Regions from separate parts of the Homo sapiens genome. Here region 2 is linked to region 1. Evidence: promoter capture Hi-C in 16 types of primary human blood cells and fetal thymus (Javierre and others, 2016). All regions are on one chromosome and are shown on one strand. Each heading gives the region's core, a stretch centred on a gene start or on the middle of the fragment in contact. The rest is flanking DNA. Distances are from core to core; before and after follow the strand shown.

Region 1 (2,700 bases), core at 68-2,567:
CCCGCTGTCTGGCCTCCCCGATGCAACACAAAGCCAAGTCGCGCCTGCCCCTCAGCCACGCACCCAGACACACATCAGTCAAGCTCTGCTCAGCCACAGCCTGCATGGCTCCCCCTCCAGACCCAGGGGTTCACTGGAGAAGGGAATGTACAGGGGGCCCTACCTGCCCTTTGGAGTCCCAGGAGCCTTACAAGAGGAGGAGCAATGTCCCCAAATACAGTCAAGGCCTTGGAGAGACAGGGCAGGAGCCACAGGGACAGTGCTGGGACTGGCACTTAGTCCCCAGGCCACACCCAGTCAGCCCCAGGCTGCTAAGACAGCAGAGCAGTGTCGTGGCAGCCAACAGGGCAGGGCTCAGCGCTACCCTCTCAGTGCCAGAGCTCCCGGGGGAGATAGGAGGTACCCAGCTTGAGGGCGGGAGGCGGGGGGGGAGCGGGGGGTGGTGCAGGGAACCAAACCAAGGAGGCACAGGAGAGAGAAAGGAAAAATAAGGCATTTGCCAGGAACAAGCAGCGGGCCCAGCTTGAAACTGCAAAGTTTCAGCTCAGATTGATCACCTCTCCAGGGCTCTTTTGTCAGCTGGACCCCTCATGCAACAGCCGGAGAAGAAAGGAAGGCCAAAGAAAAGAGAGGCCACATCCTGTCTTCACCTCCTCTACACCCCGGGAACACAAGCCTAGGAACAGGCTGGGGACAGGTCGGGAGGGAGACCTGGGGAGGCAGTTTCAGGCCCAGCCCCCACCTGTAAGTGGCAACCTCGGGCATCACAGGTACAGCTGGGCCAGCAGAGAGCCTGAGGAAGGGGCAGCCCCACGCAGAGACGGGGGTCCAGCGGCCGCCCCCCACACCCCCCACCGTGCTGCTGGTCCGGTTTGCCCGGGCCCCATCAGGGCACCCCTCGGCGGACTCGCGGAGCCCTTAGCGGGAGGGAAGTACAGCGTTGATCCTCCGAGGGGCCGCTCCCCTGCGACAAAGGGTCCTCTTTGGGCAGGGTGTTGGTCTTGGGTTGGCGTCCCCACCATGCGGGGCACAAGGAGTCGGGCAGGCCGGCGCCGACGGGCAGGGATAGGGCCTGACCCCCACAGGCCGAGCCGGACCCCCGGGCTGCCGGAGCCCCGGGCCCCGAGCTGTTTGGCCCCGCACGGACGGCGACGATGACGGCCACCTACCTGTCCCTCCGCTGGCTCCGGGTGGCCGCCCTCTGGCCACGTGGACGCGCCCCCGAGCCCCACCGCGGCCCCGCTCGCACGTCCCCACGGCCTCGCCCCGCGCCCCGGGCCCCAAGCGCGCAGCCGCCGCCGCCGCCGCCCACACACTGGGCTGGCCCGGGGGCCGCCGGAGCCTTTTAAACCCGGACCGTACCACCGCGCGGGGCGGGGGCGTCCGGGGACGCCCGGCCGAGGGGGACGCGGCGGCAGGGGACGCAGGCGGGGCCGCTGCTCCCCGGGGCCAGGGACCTCGCGCGCAGCCCTGACCCCCGCGACCTGAAGGGGGACCCGCCCGGCCAGCCGACCCCCTTCGCTCGATGGCCGCGTCCGCGGCGCGCGCCTCCCCCGCGCCCCGGCTCCCCGCCCGCCGCCTCGGGCGACCCCGGAACCCGCGCGCGCCCGCGCCACACCCCCTCGGGCCTGGGGCGCGCGTCCGCCTCGCCCCACCCTGGCGCTCGGAGACGCGCCCGGGGTCACCTGCCACCGGGGCGCGGCCTCGCTGGTCCCGGCCTCTCAGGTGCACCCCCGCCGAGGAGTCGCGTCCCCAGCTCAAGACACGCCCCCGACGGTCTCTAACCCGGAGGGCCTGCGGGACAGCCGTCCAAACCAGCCCCTTCCCCGGCGACCCTGAACCGAGGGCTTTCTTCCTTCCCTTGCTTTCTTTTTCCTTTTCTTTTTTTGTTTTCTTTTGACACAGGGTCTCGCTCTGTCACCCGGGCTGGAGTGCAGTGGTGAGATCATAGCTCACTGCAGCCTCGACCGCCCCAGGCTCAAACGATGCTCCCGCCTCAGCCTCCCAAAGTGCTGGGACTACAGGTGTGAGCCACCGCGCCCCGTTAAGGTTTTCTTTTTCATTTCCCTGATGACTAATGGTGTTCAGCATCTTTTCATGTGCTTGCTGGCCTTTTGTATATGATCTCTGAAGAAATGTCTATTCAAGTCATTTGCCCATTTTTATTAAACACATATATGGAGAGATAGATAGATAGACAGATTTTTCCCCCCAAGTTGAGGTCGCGCTCTATCACCCAGGCTGCAGTGTAGCGGCATTGGATCATGGCTCACTGCAGCCTCGACTTCCTGGGCTCAAGGGATCCTCCTGCCTCAGCCTCCCAGGTAGCTGGGACCACAGGCAAGTGCCACCACGCCTGGCTAACTTTTCCTATTCTTGTAGAGAGAGACAGGGTCTTGCTACACTGCCCAGGCTAGTCTTGAACTCCTGGGCTTAAGTAATCCTCCTGCCTCAGCCTTCCAAAGTACTGGCATATGCTGGGTGCAGTGACTCAAGCCTGTAATCCCAGCATTTTGGAAGGCTGAAGTGAGCGGATCACCTGAGGTCAGGAGTTCGAGACCAGCCTGGCCAACATGGCAAAACCCCATCTCTACAAAAAATACAAAAATTAGCCGGACATGGTGTCATATGCCTGTAGTCCCAGCTACTCAGGAGGCTGAAGCAGGAGAATTTTTTTTTTTTTTTTTTTTTTTTTTAGAC
Region 2 (2,700 bases), core at 171-2,670, 420 kb after region 1:
ACTGGAAGTAGAAAGAATTGGAAACACCATCTGGATGACACTTTAGGGTGGAAGCAGCCAGTACAAGGGGGGGCTCATTATTTCCTCTGGTCCCAGACTGTTCACCTGGAGCTGTAGCCACCACCCTGCCCTTAGGTTAACTGCCTCGAGTGGTAGTTTAGCTCTTTGTGCTGTGCCGAGGGATAACTGGAAGTGAAAGGTGCTGAGAAATGCCATCTCCTGAAAGTGGCGAGCATGAGTGAATTTACGAAAGGTTGGGATATTGCTGGGGCTCTGGAAGTTTCTCTGGAGCTCACTCCAGGGGACAGGGAGGGGGCTGGATTCCAATTCAAGTGAAAAATACCTTTCATCTGCCTTGTTCACCTGGCTTTTTTGCCTTTTTGTAAAATCTGAAAACCTCAGGGATTGAGTAGTCTTTCCTTAACTGCAGTTGCCTGTCTGGCCACACCTGCCAGCTGTTGCTTGTACCCCTGTAATTTGCACGGCCTTCCGGGCCTTTCTCACAAGATCACTGCAGGTCACATTCATGAGGAAAATGCAGGCAGTTCCTGCCATCAGACCCCTCAGGATGTCATGGTTTGGCCTGAAAACAAGATTCCTGCAACTCTAATTTTCCTTTGCTAGATCAAATGAAGGATTTGATCTAATGTTTGCATTCTAGCAGCAAAATCATTGAATATTTTATTTCTTAAGAGCCTTACTTCATATTTTGTAGGTATTTTAAGATTTTGTAAAGGCCTTTCTGCTTCAACGTGTGATGTGTGCATTCTTAGAAAAAGATCTTGTGTTCTGTAAATCACACAATAAAAACATGAGTTCGTGCAGGAAAAACTGGGGCGGGGTGGATCACTCCAAACTTGTGTGGTGTGGTAACTGGAGCTCACTGATGAAACCATGAACAGTTCTGGCTGAAAGAACCCCACAGTACACTGAGGTCTGTTGGCATCGCCGCCAGCACCGCCCCGGTCCCTTTGTGCGCGCCACCACACCTGGCTAATTTTTTATTTTTAGTAGAGAGGGGGTTTCACCATGTTGGTCAGGATGGCCTCGAACTGACCTCGTGATCCGCCCACCTCAGCCTCCCAAAGTGCTGGGATTACAGGTGTGAGCCTCCGTGCCCAGCCTTCAGCTTTTTTTCTTAATGTCTTTGTGTAATATGAAGGCATTCTCTTTAATTGTTAAAAAGCTTGCCTACCACTGCTTCAAAATATTACTGTCAGTTGGCATAGCTTCTGATTATATTGATGTCATCTCCCTTCTTTTAAACATGTTACCATATTGGCACTGTATTTCCCCTAGCCCATTGATCACTTGAGAGTTAGTCATAGTCCTCGTGCTGTTTCACTCCTAAACGTTTAAGCATGCCTTTCCTAAGAGCAGACAGTACAGTTAAGACACTCAGGAAGTTTAGCAATGAGCTAACACAGAACCTTACATTTCTCCACATACCCCATAAATGCCTTTTTTAGAGCCTTTGAGCCTGGAATGCAGAGTCCAGGACTGTGTGTTGTATTCGATTGTGTCATCCCTTCAGTCTCCTTTATCAGAAATGTTCCCCCACCCCCTTGTTTTCTCTCATCATCTTGAGTCCAGACCGTGGTTGCATGGCACGCCCTCTCTGGACTCTTCCTGCTGTCTCCTCACGGTAAGCTTCAGTCTCCTACTCGTGATGCTGGTTCATCTCAGCAGCACTGAGGGGCCTGAGCTCAGTTTGGTCGTGTGTTAAGGTGGTGCCTGCCAGATTTCTCCACAGAAAAGGGCCCCGTACTTTTATTTGCTCTTCAGCCTGTGTATTCCTTCCTTTCTTGCCAGCTTGTGGGTGGCTTCTCTAGCAGCTTCTGTAAGATACTCAGTTTGGCAGTTGTAGTTGTTTCAGCAGGAGAGGTGTCTGCATACCTGACCACCACATGGCTAGAAGTCGATCCATCCTCTGGCGTAACCATCCTCCATGCTACTGTCCCTGGGGCACTGAGGCCCTCCTCAGTGACTTCCTCCACCTCATCTTCCGCCATCTCCAAGCCACCAGTGTCCAACGGACTACTGATATGTCCCAAACTCATCATTTGTTTATTCACCAATTCAGAGCCCACCTTTTTTTCAGCACTGAGCTAGCCTCTCCTTGCTAGAAGCTTACGGTCGAAGGTCTCCAGCCATCAGAAGAAGCACGTGGAGCGCTGCGTCCGTGTTGTGGTTATTCATCCAGCATGTGTTGAGTAAGGGTTGCACCTGTGCCTGGCATTATGCATTGAGCGGGGAGATGGGGGTTGGCACGCACAGTGGGGTGTTCTAAGTACACTGAGGGCTCGGGTGCCCTGGCTCATAGAGCAGGGAGGGAGGCAGGAGCAGGGAAGGTGTCTCAGAAGTGCCATCTTTTTTTTTTTTTTTTTGGGAAGTGGAATCTTGTTCTATCGCCTGGTCTGGAGTGCAATGGCACTATCTCAACTCACTGCAGCCTCCGCCTCCCAGGTTCAAGCGATTCTCATGCCTCAGTCCCCGAGTAGCTGGGACCACAGGCGCACACCACCACACCCGGCAAATATTTTGTATTTTTAGTAGAGGCGGAGTTTTGCCATGTTGGCCAGGCTGGTCTTAAACTCCTGGCCTCAAGTGATCTGCTCACCTCGGCCTCCTAAGGTGTTGGGATTACAGGCATGAGCCACTGCGCCCGGTCTAGAAGTGCCATCCTAACTGAACCTGAAA

What was found. Contacts are between HindIII fragments. The CHiCAGO score rates a contact against its expected background, and 5 or more counts as called.
Region 2: a contact is called between a fragment that was not itself captured here and the fragment with the promoter of PLXNA3 in region 1, in 1 of 17 cell types (non-activated CD4 T cells). The highest score is 5.2, in non-activated CD4 T cells.

The regions. Positions count from the first base shown.
Region 1 is chrX:154,456,898-154,459,597 of GRCh38, reverse strand. PLXNA3 (plexin A3) reads right to left here and starts at 1,317. Exons shown (of 33, transcript NM_017514.5): 1 at 1,170-1,317. RefSeq lists enhancers at 1-414, 1,840-1,909 and silencers at 900-969, 1,210-1,449, 1,580-1,749. The HindIII fragment of the contact is 19,869 bases long and covers 1-2,700 here.
Region 2 is chrX:154,039,305-154,042,004 of GRCh38, reverse strand. All of the region lies in intron 1 of MECP2 (methyl-CpG binding protein 2), which reads left to right. Among named protein-coding and RNA genes, the nearest start is that of MIR718, 21 kb to the right of the region's middle. RefSeq lists an enhancer at 457-957. The HindIII fragment of the contact is 464 bases long and covers 1,189-1,652 here.